Regions from separate parts of the Homo sapiens genome. Here all the other regions are linked to region 5. Evidence: promoter capture Hi-C in 16 types of primary human blood cells and fetal thymus (Javierre and others, 2016). All regions are on one chromosome and are shown on one strand. Each heading gives the region's core, a stretch centred on a gene start or on the middle of the fragment in contact. The rest is flanking DNA. Distances are from core to core; before and after follow the strand shown. Region 1 overlaps LOC124903282 (a long non-coding RNA gene). Region 2 holds the start of RNASE11 (ribonuclease A family member 11 (inactive)). Region 3 has its middle 5.1 kb from the start of TRY-GTA5-3. Region 4 has its middle 6.1 kb from the start of RNASE9. Region 5 holds the start of TTC5 (tetratricopeptide repeat domain 5).

Region 1 (2,700 bases), core at 57-2,556, 400 kb after region 5:
TAATAAAAAATAAATTTGAACTTAGTTCCTGGTTCCTGCCACAGACCTTCTAAAATGCTTGGAATTTCCTGAGTGATAGTGTAACCAAACTAAGGGTCAGCTGATCACTGCTCACTGCTCAAAAGCAAGACTTGCAAGACAAGAGTTGGTGCAGGAAAAGCAGGTTTATTCAAGAGCTAGCAACCTGAGGAGATGGTGGACTAGCGCCTCAAAGACTATTTCAAAATTTTAGGCTAGCTAAAGGGATTTTAAGAAGTAGGAGGCATGGAAACTATGAGCAGGAGTGGTGCAGGGTGCAGGTTTGCATGTCTTACTCTGATGGCTATCTTCAGTAACGGATCACCTGGAGGTCTGGCTGGCATCACCATGACTGCAACTAGCTTATGGATTAACCCCCCTCAGTGATTTTTCTGAGAATGTAGGATTCCACAATCTCAAATTCATGCCCGGTTTATTTCAAGATTAGCCCCTGGGTTTCTTAAGCAAGGATACGGCTAGATACTGAATAAATCAAAGGGTGAGGCTATTCATTATTGAAGCAGGCTGATTATTCCAGCTACAAACTCCCCACTGCCAATTCCTGTTTCATTTCTATGGGAGATCAGGTGTCAATTTCTTTCTAGCTACTTCCTGCTGAATGAGGGCATCACTAGGGAGCTGAAGAATGGAATTTATTTACCTGGAGTTGGAAGTATTCATGCATTCCTTGACTTATGGAAGTGATTTTTTACAGCATCATTGACCTGGGAGTTAGGAGCCTTTCCAATTAAGGAAAACACAATCTTGCAATATCACACATATGGTGCAACAAGAGTATAACCCATAGAGAATATACCTATTCCTATAATCATAGCTGGAACTACTAGCAGTTTTTTCCACCAAGTAGGTCCGTATCCAAACCATGAAGATAACCACTGGTTTAGGAACATTGTGGGGTCAGACATAGCATTGATTTGTCTGTGCACGTCTTGAAGGGCTAAGGAGATGTTTCGCAAATTACCTAGGATATACACAAAACATTTAGTTTCAATTATGGGTCAAGGTCCCTCCCAGCAGCTGTGAGTACATCAAGGGCCATGTGGTTTTGCAAGACTACTTTTCCCATCATAGTCATTTCAGAGGTTACTAATGAGATGCCCTTAAATGTGTCTTTCAGCACTTGCTATAATTTGTAAGTGCCTCAATATGCCAGATGATGCTTTCTAAGCCTGCTTGGGGGAAAACAAGGGACAGGAGATGGTCGTAGGAAGGGAAAACCGGCCTGGTCCATTGGTGTAACACATCTGGAAAGTGTGCAGGCTGCCTGGTGGTTTTTGTTAATCAGCCCCGGACCTATGGGGGTCCTAACGTGCACTGCCCTATCCATCCATCAGGTAGACATGGCCGAAGATTAGTTTCACATAACTATTGAGTTCCACTGGGGACCAGCCACCAAATTTTGGGTCTGTGTCCAATCAGTGGTAAACAGGTTTGTCTAATATAGCACTAAAGAATGTTCATATTGATGTAGAGGCATCCTATCCACATTTTTAGTAACATTCGGCCAATGATTCTAAGAGTGATTCCTTTGTTCCCAACATGAAGTGGCAATTTGGGTTAAGTGACTAATAGTGGAGATCATCCAGAGGTAATCGTCCCAAATTTGATAAAAACTCACCTACCGTGTAATGGTTATTAGTAGCCAAAATCTTGGGGGCCATCTAGGAAAACTCCTTTAAGAGAGGGATTGCATACTCAGAGGTCCTTTGGATAGTCCGGTTATAATGAAGAGTTTTCCAGGATCTGGATTCTGAAGCGTTATATTAATGCCAGGCCATTTTTAAAAAATATTACCTTAAGTTACCAAGGTCCTGATTTTCCCATGAACAGTTTTTCATATACGTTTGTAAATGTATCTAATCAGTCCCCTGCAGGGGTGATACTCACTAAAGTAGCCCAGAAGTGCTAGAGATGGGTAGCAATCCACATACCCAGCAAGCATCTTAGTGTAGACTATCTGCATAATGTTATGCCCACTGTAGAAATAGACTAGTTTTAGCAGATGTCAAAAAAGTTTACTCATTATGATAAAGAATAACAGAAATTTAATCCTATAGTACAAAAAGATTTTTCTTAAGCAGTAGCTTCAGTTCTCCAGTTGGCTCACAAGTCCAACCAGGTTGATTGTCTGCTGTGTCAGGTTGGGGAGGGGCGATTTTTACCGAAATGTGATGTATGCGTGGTTTGACTCCAGCCAGCTTAACAGATGAATGAGTAGTTAATAAAACATCATAATGACCTGTCCACTTTTTGGCTGGCTGTTGTTGGTCCAGTCCTTGTTTTTACCAAGATTTTAGCGGCACTTTATCCTTGGATGAAAAGGGTGAAGGGGCTTTTTTGTAAGACACATAAAACTGGAAAGAACAAAAAGAACAAACTTGTGCAGGGTTAGTGATTTATGTCTTAGTTGTTGTACATATTGTTTAATTCTTGATTAATTTATTAAGTCCAAGGGTGGGGTCCCTGGCCAAGAACTTCAGAAGGGTCTCCCACACACAATTTCAAAAAGGCTTAATTTAAGCCCACTTCAGGGTGCTACCCCAATCCATAGCAGGGCAATAGGTAAAACCCTTTACCATTTTAAATCTGTTTCCCGATAGAGTTTTGCCAGGGGTTTTTTTTGGTTTTTTTGTTTGTTTGTTTTGTTTTGTTTTTGTTTTT
Region 2 (2,700 bases), core at 155-2,654, 280 kb after region 5:
CCAAAGACCTGATACATTTTGAAGGCAGAAAGGATGAGGGATTTATAGGGAATTTATTTTGTTTCCTAAACTTCTATATCCTATACCATTGACATCAGTAGTGAGGTGACAATAGGGAAACAGAAAGACCAGGAGGAGAAAGATAAACAGGAAGAAGAGCAGGGCAGAAATTTCCAGTCTTTCTGAGACATATATTTCAAGTGGGCAGCATTCACAGCTGCCTAGGTTTTATTTGAAACTGCTAAGAGGTGCCCTTTAAAAAAATATACCTGGCTGGGCACAGTCACTCATGCCTGTGGTCTCATTGCTTTGGGAGGCCAATGCGGGAGGATCACTTGAGGCCAGAAGTTCAAGACCAGCCTAGGCAACATAGTGAGAATCCATCTCTACAACAACAACAACAACAAAAAGCCAGTTGTGGTGGCATATGCCTATAGTCCCAGCCACTCGGGAGGCTGAGAGGAGAGGATTTCTTGAGCCCAAAAGTCTGAGACTGCAGTGAGCTGTGATCACACAACTGCACTCCATCCTGGGCAACAGAATGAGACTCTGATCCTATATATCTGTATAATATATATGTATATACATATTTAGATACAGATAGATAGATATAGATACACACACACCCAAACTACGAATGTCTAAAATGTCACAATTCATTTGAATTTGGTGTTGATCCCTATTGAATGAAATTACTCTGAGGATACATCCTATTGGTTCATCTCAGTTATACTTTTATCTGCAAGATATTTTTAATTAGAAAGGAGGAGCTTCGGTGAAGAAGGGGAGAAAAAGCACTGAAAAGGAAAGAAAAGACAACAAAACCTAGGGAGAGGGATAGAAAAAGGAATCAGAATTCAGAAAATAGATGTAGGAACCTAAAGGATGCATTTCATCCACTTCAAAGTTTTGCCCAAAAAATGATGCTACCAAGGCCCAACAAATCATGTGCTAGGGACCACCTACCTGTTCCTGTTCAGTTTCTATTCAGATGCTGAGGGCTCTGTTTACCTGGTGACACCCAAAATTCTATGGAGACAACAATGACAACAGAATTACCACAGAGAACTAGAAAATGAAACTCAGCTGAAAAACGGCCACCTAAGATGGAAGAAGCCATGAGATGAGTAAGCGTTGCCTACTCACAAGGTTGCAAACTGTCCTTCACTTACGATTATCCCCCAACGCCCCCTCCTAAATCTGATCAATCGCATGGAACTTGATGGTTACAAAAGACAGAGCTAACAACTAGCGTAAGTGCACCTTCTTCTTTGACATGACCTTGAACTAAGTCCAAATGAGCAATGAACAGCTGAAGTCTCTCAACTGAAAAGATCAGGACAGAGAGTGCTCTCCAAAGCCTGTGACCCACCCATGCCTGCTCTAGGTCACTGTATGAGTCTCTAGCTCTCACATACAGGATTGAAATGCCATAGCTCAGAATTAGTGACAACATAATCTGGCCTTTATTTGCCAATTGCCCCTTATTTCTTACTACCTCACAATACAAATTCTCCCCTCCAACAATGGCTATAATATAGCCATTTTCTGTACTACTTAAGAAATAGAATTATAGACTAATAGACTTGGAAAGAACTTGAAAGATTATCTAATTCAAGATCCTCACTTTACAGACAAGGAAACTAATGAATAGAGAAGAAGAGGACTTCATGAAATCCCCAGAATTAGAAATCTCTCTTTCTCGTCCTTCTCCTTCTAGCTGTAAGGATACTATGCCCATAGCTGAATGTGGGGAAACTAAGCAGTAAGTCCAATTGTAAGAACTAAAAAGAGAAAAGAGTTAGTAGTCCGGCTCAAAGTCCTCTCTGTTCCTTCTGGAGACACAAAGAGGAGGTCACTGAGCTCTGAAAGTCTCAATCCCTCCCTGGGAAATCCTTATCTGTGTCTCTCTAAAGTCTTTAAGGGAAATGGTTTCAGACCAGTCAGGCTCCTTTCTTTATTTCAAGACACAAAGGGAGCTGCTGAACAGGAACAGATGCTGCCTGAGTTGTATATGCTATCTTTAAAAAAGACCCTAAGAGGTGACCTCTGTTGCTTCTACAGCTAGAAGCAGAGCTAGGATTAGGCTGAGGTTAATGAGACACTCACTCTAAGACCAAAATTTAAGAGAGTGCCACAAAACTCAATAATCAAGATAAATAATATTTTAATGCAACAATTTTAGAAAATATTTATTTATTTATTTTTGAGACAGAGTCTTGCTCTGTTGCCCAGGCTGGAGTGCAATGGCATGATCTCGGCTCACTGCAACCTCCACCTCCCAGGTTCAAGCGCTCCTCCTGTGTCAGCTTCCCAAGCAGCTGGGATTACAGGCGTGCACCACCACACCCAACTAACTTTTGTATTTTTAGTGGAGAGGAGGTTTCACCATGTTGGCCAGGCTGATCTCAAACTCCTGACCTCAAGTGTTCCACCTGCCTCAGCCTCCCAAAGTGCTGGGATTACAGGCATGAGCCACCACGCCTGGCCAGAAAATAAATTTAATGCAAAATAATCCCTGATGAACAAATGTTAAAATTTTAAATACCAGGATCTGGCCCTGCACTACGTTTCTCACATAACTCATCTTACCCTGATCCTAGCCTTGTCAGATTGGATCTTCAAAATTTTGTGATAGATATTTTGAGCATCCAAGATTTCTTTTTTTTTTTTTTTGAGACGGAGTCTCACTCTGCCGCC
Region 3 (2,700 bases), core at 201-2,700, 340 kb after region 5:
GCCACCACACGCGGCTAATTTTTGTATTTTTAGTAGAGACGGGGTTTCACCATGGTGGCCAGGCTGGTCTTGAACTCCTGATCTCAGGTGATCCACTGCCTCGGCCTCCCAAAGCGCTGGGATTACAGGCATGAGCCACTACGCCCGGCCAAGCCACACGTGTTTTTAAACCTTAATCAAATCTTAAGGACTAAGGAAACTGCAGAAATAGATGAGATCAAAGACAGACAATTTGTTTAAAACAAACAAGCACACAGGCTGGGCTCAGTGGCTCAGGCCTGTAATCCCAGCACTTTGGGAGGCCAAGGCTGGTGGATCACCAGAGGCCAGGAGTTTGAGACTAGCCTGGCCAATATGGCGAAACCTCATCTCTACTAAAAATACAAAAATTAGCTGGGCCTGGTGGTGCCCACCTGTATTCCCAAGTACTAGGGAGACTGAGGTAGGAGGATGGCTTGAGCCTGGAAGGTGGAGGTTGCAGTGAGCCAAGATAGTGCCACTACACTCCAGAGCAAGACTCTGTATCAAAAACAAAACAAAACAAAACAAAACAAAACAAAACAAAAAACGCTATTTGACCAGTTGACATTGGCTTTGGTATTTAGCTTATAATACTTTTTCTTTTTTTTGATACAGTGTTTTTGCTCTGTTGCCGCCCAGGCTAGAGTGCAGTGGAACACTTTCGGCTCACTGCTACCTCCGTCTTCCGGGTTCAAGTGATTCTCCTGCCTCAACCTCCCGAGTTGCTGGGATTATAGGTGTCTGCCACCACGCCCAGCTAATTTTTGGAGTTTTAGTAGAGACAGGGTTTCACCATGTTGACCAGGCCAGTCTCAACTCCTGGCCTCAAGTGATCCGTCCGCCTCGGCCTCCCAAAGTGCTGGGATTACAGGCATCAGCCACCGCAACCGACCACTTATAATACTTTCAAACTAACTTGATCATAGGAATTTCCTAGTTTTTTTTAATGAAAGTAAACCATGTTAGAAGAAAAAATTGTATTTATTTTTAAAGCATACTCACATGGTTCAAAAATAAAAATGTATAAATTGAAAAGTTCTAGTCCCCCACATTCCTATTCACCCCATCCCCCTCGCCTAATTAACCATTTTCATTAGTTCATTGGCCTCCTTCCAGTGTTTTTTGTGTATAAACAAGGAAATAACTAAATGTTTACTTATTTACTTGACACTTTCTTACACAGTTCTGCACCTTGTTTCTTCTTTTCCCCTGGAAAACCTTCCCTGTCAGAAAATAAAGAACAAAAGAAAAATGTATAAACCAAGAAGACTACTAGAATGACACATCTATTGAATGAATGAGTTGCAACATTCTTGAATTACATGTCTGCTTTAATCATTGTTTGATATCTCTTTAGCTTCAATTTTCCTTACAAGTAAAAATCATATTGTAATGGAAACTGTATCAAAAAATCTAATTGACACTTTGTAAATAAAAATGAGCTAAAGTAAAATGAAATGATATCTGGAATTTTCTTCAAAATAAAGTGAGGGCTATAGATAAAACTTTCTTGGCCATGAACTGGGAATTCATGGAGCTATATGTCAGCTATAACTGTGGTTCATTATACTATTCTCTCTATTTTTAATATGTTTGAAATGTTTCATAATAAAAAGCCTCAGAAATATGTAGTGAAAATCAAGCATCTATTTCAAGAAAACTCTAAATTTTTAGAATACGATTTTCCCAGTTAAAAATTAATAAAGGTGTGAAATACTTCCCTGAATATGGAAACTCTAGTTCCACAAAATTAACCAGCCAGCCACTGGAGAATGTCAAATACCATGTGGGCTACTCAGAGCCAGAAAATGTAAAACTATAATGAACTACCAATTCCAAGAGGAACTTAACTTTCTCAGCAACAACCTGCCTTCTGGTTCAAAAGGAGTGGAGGCAATATAGAAACACACATAAACACAGAATCACAGTCTAGAATAAGTTTTTTTGTTTTTGTTTTTTTTGTTTTTCTTTGAGGTTGAGTCTCCCTCTGTCACCCAGGCTGGAGTGCAGCGGCGCTATCTCGGCTCACTGCAGCCTTCGCCTCCCGGGTTCAAGCGATTCTCTTGCCTCAGCCTCGTGAGTAGCTGGGATTACAGGCATGAGCCACCAGGACCGGCTAATTTTTGTATTTTTAGTAGAGAGGGGGTTTCACCATGTTGGCCAGGCTGGTCTCAATCTCCTGACCTCAAGTGATCCACTGCCTCAGCCTCCCAAAATGCTGGTACCACAGACATGAGCTACCGTGCTGGGCCTATGGAGATTTGATTGAGTTAACAGATTTCAGAACCTATCTTTTTCATTATGACAAATTCTTTAATATAAAACTTAACCTTTTTTCCTTTTCTTCCTTTTTCTTTTTCTTTTTTAACACATAGGAAAACAAGACAGAGTGCTATTACCAAGTCTCGTAGTAAGAGGATGTCTTTGTTCAGGCTGCTATAACAAATTACCATAAATAGGTAAACAACAAACATTTGTTTCTCACCATTCTAGAGGCTGGAAATTTGATATCCCAGAGCCAGCATGATGGGGTTCTTGGTGGGGCTCTTTCTGGTTTATAGAGGGCAGTCTTCTTTCTGTGCCCTCACATGGAGGAAAAAAAGCTAGCTAGCTCTGTGGCCTCTTCTTATAAGAAGACTAATTTCGTTCATGAGGGCTCCAGCCTTACATGCTAATGAT
Region 4 (2,700 bases), core at 78-2,577, 260 kb after region 5:
TGAAAACTATAAAACATGGATTTAAAAAGTTGAAAAGGACACCAGAAAATGCAAAGACATCCCATTTCCATGGTTTGGAAGAATTAATATTAATAACATGTCCATACTACCCAAAGTGATCTACAGATTCAATGCAATGCCTATCAAAATACCAGTGACATTCTACATAGAAATAGAAAAGATAATCTTAAGATAAGTGTGAAGCCACAAAGGACCCTGAATAGTCAAAGCATTGCTGAGCAAAAAGAATAAAGCTGGGGGCACCATACTACCTGACTTCAAAATATACTACAAAACTATAGTAACCATTATAGCATGATACTGGCATAAAAGCAGACACATAAACCAATGGAACAGAATAGAAAACCCTAAAATAAATCCACATATTTACAGTCAATTCATTTTTGGCAAATGTGGCAAAAACATACACTAAGGAAAGAATATCCTCTTCAATAAATAGTGCTGGGGAAACTAGATATCCATAAGCAGAAGAGTAGATCTAGACCCTTATCTCTCACCATATACAAAAACCAAATCAAATGAATTAAAAACTTAAATATAAGGCCTAAAACTATAAAACTACTGAAAAAAACATTGGATAAGTGCTTCAGAATATTGATCTGGGCAAAGACATTTTGGGTAAGACCTCAAAAGCACAGGCAACAAAAGCAAAAATAGACAAATGAGATTACCTAAAGCTAAAAAGCTTCTGCATAGAAAAGGAAACATTAAGAGTGAAGAGACCACCTACAAAATAGGAGAAAATATTTGCAAACTACCTATCCGACAAGGGGTAACCAGAATACATAAGAAATTCAAACAACTCAATAGCAAAAAAAAAATTTGATTTTAAAATGGGCAATGATCTGAATAGAAATTATTTAGAAGACATACAAATAGACAACAGGTATGTAAAAAAAGCTCAGTCACTAATCATCAAGGAAATGTAAACCAAAACTATAATGTGTCGACAAAAAGAGTCAAACTCTGTAAAATACTTGAAGAGGTTTATCCTGAGCCAAATATGAGTAATCATGGTCCATGACACAGCCCACATGAGGTCCTGAAAACATGCAGCCAAGGTGGTCAGGGTACAGCTTGGTTTTATATATTTTAGGGAGGTATGAGACATCAATCAGATACATTTAAGAAATGCATCAGTTTGGTTCAGAAAGGCAGGACAACTCAAAGCGGGGGCTTCCGGGCTTTAGAAAAATTTAAACATTTTCTGGTTGACAATCGGTTGAGTTTGTCTAAGACCTGGGATCAATAGAAAGGAAATGTTCAGGTTAAGATAAAAGATTGTGGAGACCACAATCTTTTGATGTTCTTTTGAAGTCTTATAGTGGCTGCCCTTAGAGACAATAGATGATAAATGTTTCCTATTCAGGTCTTTAAAAGGTGCTACACTTTTAGATAATCTCTTCAGGATTGAGAGGGCCTGGAAGAAAAAGATCTAGCTATGTTAGTAGAGATTCTTTACAAATGCAGATTTTCCCCCACAAAGGACACTTTGCAGGGCCATTTCAAGATATGGCAGAGAAACATGTTGTGATGGTTAATACTGAGTGTCAACATGATTGGATTGAAGGATGCAAAGTATTGATGTTGGGTGTGTCTGTGAGGGTGTTGCCAAAGAAGATTAACATTTGAGTCATATGTAACAAACCTGCATGTTGTGCACATGTACCCTAGAACTTACAGTATAAAAAACAACAACAACAACAACATTTGAGTCGGTGGGCTGGGGAAGGCAGATCCACCCTTAATCTGGTGGGCACCATCTAACCAGTTGCCAGTGAATATAAAGCAGGCAGAAAAACATGAAAAGACGAGACTGGCCTAGGCTCCTAGCCTACATCTTTCTCCTGTGCTGGATGCTTCCTGCCCTTGAACATCAGACTCCAAGTTCTTCAGTTTTGAGACTCAGACTGGCGCTCCTTGCTGCTCAAGCTTGCAGACAACCTATTGTGGGACCTTGTGATCATGTAAGTTAATACTTAATAAACTCCCCTTTATATATAAACATCTATCCTGTTCGTTCTGTCCCTCTAGGGAACCCTGACTAATACAGATTTTGGTACCAGGAGTGGTTCTAGAGGAAGAGAATATTAAGGATGGAATTCTTTTATTGGTTTTGGGGTTTCTGGAGTTAGCTGCTTAATATGATTAGACCCCAAAATGCTAAGGACTGCACTTCTAATAGTATGGAAAATACTGATAGTCTTTGGCATTAACTGTTTAGAGACTTATGCAAAATAAATGCACTCGACACTCCTGATTCACCGCTCATGAGAGGCAAGGAGCTTAGTGACTCTATATATAATACCTTTGACTGTATGTGGAGAGCCAAGGAACATGATGAAGCTGTTAGTTGCTCCTAAGTTCAGTGGATAAAGTGATGAAAGAAAATTATGAACTCAAGGATTCTGTCTCTCAGCTTCAGAAGCAGATACTGAGCCTCAAATCTACTAAGATTGCTTTGAGTGAGAGTCTTATCTCCTGTAGAAAAAGAGGTGAAATTGTGAAAAAACAGACACAGACTTTTATCATGCGAGTGGCTGAACTGCCACAAAAGGGGCATGCACAGCCTTACCAGGTGTCTACTGTTAAAGTGAGGGCATTGGCTGGAATGGGACCCTGCAACTTGGAATGAGGACGTGTGGGAGGACCCTGATGAAGCTGGGGACACTGAGTTTG
Region 5 (2,700 bases), core at 12-2,511:
ATTACAACCAATTTCCTTTTGTCCTGCAATCAACATGGCTGCAAATTAAGAGTTTTAGAGAAGGGCTTATTGATTGGTTTTAGTTGTTAAACCAAACATTCAAGAAGTTGTTTGGTTTTATTGTTTGGTTTTGTTTTCCTCTGGACTGAATGTTTTTAGAAACTTATTTTTTCATGGCAAAATCAATACATGTAAGTTGTTAAAATTCAAATAGATACATGTAAAAAAAAGAAAGTACAAAATTACCCCAAAGAACCTCAGTGATAACCACTGATTTGTATACCTTTTCAGATTTTTTTCTGTGCATATACAAACATATATACACAAATAATGTTTCTAATATAGAACCAGAATTGAGAATCTCTGATTTCAGCCAGTCACAGTTAGGGAATAAAATGAAGTTAATCCAAATCAGCTGGAACACTCTAAAAAGTGTTACTATTTTAATGTACCCAAGAACAAAGAAATTTCACCAGTATTTAAATTTGTGCGTTAAACACCTTTAGGCAAGTTACAAGCCTGTCATAGTTCTAATATTTAAGTTACAGGCTGCCTTAGAACGAAGAACTGAGTTCCTGAGGTGTAAGGAAAATCATGGGTTCTTAAAGGCAAAGAGCCAAGCAACTAGTTAACGCCTCCCTACCAAGTCCAAAAGACTAGTCTTACCTGTGGACTATGTGGAGTCTGGACCCCTCTGCATCAGACCCCAAAGTGGAATTACACAGGTTGAAAGAAATCAAAACTGAAATCCTAAGGGGAGTAACCAGGACACTTGCAGTGCAGGTCATTAGCGTGATTGTTGCCAAATTCAAAGCAGAAAGGTGTTAAATGGCTTTTGTAGGGATCAAAACAACATGTGACAGTAGTTCATGCAGATCTGCCACACACATGTATATGCTATTCGCTATGGATGAATCGAGAAAACAACGTCCTCTCTAAAAATGTACATGAACAGTTAGGAGCAACAAATCTTCTTCCATACAGGACTGAAATTAACCGCAGTCAGGTCGGCAGCAGGAGGTTCCAACGAGGCTCCCTGGCTGGCTGCGGCTGCACCCTCGAGGGTTGTTATAGTAACCACACAGACGCACGCAGCTTCGCGTGTGTGCCGAGGAATTCACGGGCAGTACATAAACTGGACTCCCTGCTTCATTCGGAGTAACAAAAACACATACAGAATTTAATCTACGGCCCCACCTGCAATTTCTGCAAGATCGGCTTGACTTCTTCCTCTTCATCAGCCATCATCTCCCGGCCACTCCACCCCCAACTTTATAACCACAGAGACGCACGCCCTCTCTCACCGCGGAACCACAGCGACATCTGGCGTTCTGGAGGCTTTTCTGCCCCAGAAGGGCTTTGCTTCAAACCGACTTAACCATTTATTTCCACAGAGATGCTCTACAATCACTTGTGAGTTCATAAACTTCTTTCTTTCCCAGATCCTGGAAACAAAATGTCCTCAGCTTAATTTCTATATTCTTGTTTCATGTCTTCCTACTTATTTATACTAAGATTATAATACTCCATAAAGAAGAGAGTTTAAGAAGTGCACACCTGTGTTGTTTGAAATTTCGAAAGCCATGTAGTACAATAGCTACTTTACTCAATCTTTTCCAAACTTTGCAGTAATTTTCTATGTATGATTAATTTTATCATTTTAATGCACTATCTTAATAAATACTACACTTGGGATGGCTCATAAAAACCACCATGCTCTACACTAACAATGCCTCCATATTTATAGACAACATCCAGAAGGATATATAAGAAAGGATGACTGTCTCTGCAGAGGGAAACACAGAAACTGGGGAACTGTGGGTGAGCGAAGAAAATTTTCACTGCCTGCCCTTTTGAATTTTCTTGCCATCTATATGTATCACCTATTCAAATATAAACATTTTTAAATAAAAAATTATTTGCTTCTACATAGTCTCTGGAAAGAGACACAAGACACTGGCAAGACTATCGCTTACAAAGAGCAGAAGTGAGTGGCTGGAGCAAAAATGAGTGACCAGGGAACTGGGGTAGACTTTTCACTCTATGCCTTTTTTGTAACTTTAAAGTTTGTACCTTGTGAATATATTAAACTTCTGAATAAATCTTTTAAAGTGTCATGTAATATTCCTGGCAGTTTTGCTTTACTTTTTTAGTTTTAATTACAGCTTCAAGCTGATTCTGTGAAACTAACAAAGAAGTAAAACGTTCAAGGCAGAAATCATGAATATACATAAAATCATTTCCTCAAATCATTTTCCAACATAAAGGAAATAGTTTGTATTGTAACCTATAAAATCTATGTCGTTAGCTGTAAAATAGGGAGGGATGTTTTAAAAATTTTTTTTTGAGATGGAGTCTCACTGTGTAGCCCAGGCTGGAGTGCAATGGCGCCATCTCGGCTCACTGCAACCTCGGCCTCCCAGGTTCAAGCGATTCTCCCGCCTCAGCCTCCCGAGTAGCTGGGGCTACAGGTGCATACCACCACGCCCGGCTAATTTTTTGTATTTTTAGTAGAGACGGGATTTCACCGTGTTAGCCAGGATGGTCTCGATCTCCTGACCTCATGATTCACCCGCCTCAGCTTCCCAAAGTGCTAGGATTACAGGCGTGAGCCACCACACCCGGCCCTAAAACTTTAAAATTTTTCATCCTCTTTCTCAGACATTTTAACTTTGGTGCACACGAGGCTGGGCACGGTGG

The links. Contacts are between HindIII fragments. The CHiCAGO score rates a contact against its expected background, and 5 or more counts as called.
Region 1: a fragment that was not itself captured here is called in contact with the fragment with the promoter of TTC5 in region 5 in 5 of 17 cell types (naive CD8 T cells, total CD4 T cells, fetal thymus and 2 more); the score reaches 6.2 in naive CD8 T cells.
Region 2: the fragment with the promoter of RNASE11 here is called in contact with the fragment with the promoter of TTC5 in region 5 in 3 of 17 cell types (naive CD8 T cells, erythroblasts and naive B cells); the score reaches 5.6 in naive CD8 T cells.
Region 3: a contact is called between a fragment that was not itself captured here and the fragment with the promoter of TTC5 in region 5, in 5 of 17 cell types (neutrophils, naive CD8 T cells, non-activated CD4 T cells and 2 more). The highest score is 8.8, in neutrophils.
Region 4: a fragment that was not itself captured here is called in contact with the fragment with the promoter of TTC5 in region 5 in 1 of 17 cell types (naive CD4 T cells); the score reaches 5.4 in naive CD4 T cells.

What each region holds. Positions count from the first base shown.
Region 1 is chr14:20,707,726-20,710,425 of GRCh38, forward strand. LOC124903282 (a long non-coding RNA gene) reads right to left here. Exons shown (of 2, transcript XR_007064061.1): 2 at 2,068-2,700. Among named protein-coding and RNA genes, the nearest start is that of EGILA, 2.1 kb to the left of the region's middle. The HindIII fragment of the contact is 3,301 bases long and covers 1-2,700 here.
Region 2 is chr14:20,586,597-20,589,296 of GRCh38, forward strand. RNASE11 (ribonuclease A family member 11 (inactive)) reads right to left here and starts at 1,405. Exons shown (of 3, transcript NM_001394190.1): 1 at 1,264-1,405; 2 at 967-1,029. It overlaps RNASE11-AS1 (RNASE11 and RNASE12 antisense RNA 1), which reads left to right and starts at 1,628. Exons shown (of 5, transcript NR_122043.1): 1 at 1,628-1,722. The HindIII fragment of the contact is 10,143 bases long and covers 1-2,700 here.
Region 3 is chr14:20,646,703-20,649,402 of GRCh38, forward strand. No RefSeq gene overlaps it. Among named protein-coding and RNA genes, the nearest start is that of TRY-GTA5-3, 5.1 kb to the right of the region's middle. The HindIII fragment of the contact is 5,518 bases long and covers 1-2,700 here.
Region 4 is chr14:20,565,766-20,568,465 of GRCh38, forward strand. No RefSeq gene overlaps it. Among named protein-coding and RNA genes, the nearest start is that of RNASE9, 6.1 kb to the left of the region's middle. The HindIII fragment of the contact is 1,247 bases long and covers 705-1,951 here.
Region 5 is chr14:20,304,690-20,307,389 of GRCh38, forward strand. TTC5 (tetratricopeptide repeat domain 5) reads right to left here and starts at 1,262. Exons shown (of 10, transcript NM_138376.3): 1 at 1,198-1,262. The coding sequence starts at 1,248. RefSeq lists an enhancer at 1,168-1,407. The HindIII fragment of the contact is 10,592 bases long and covers 1-2,700 here.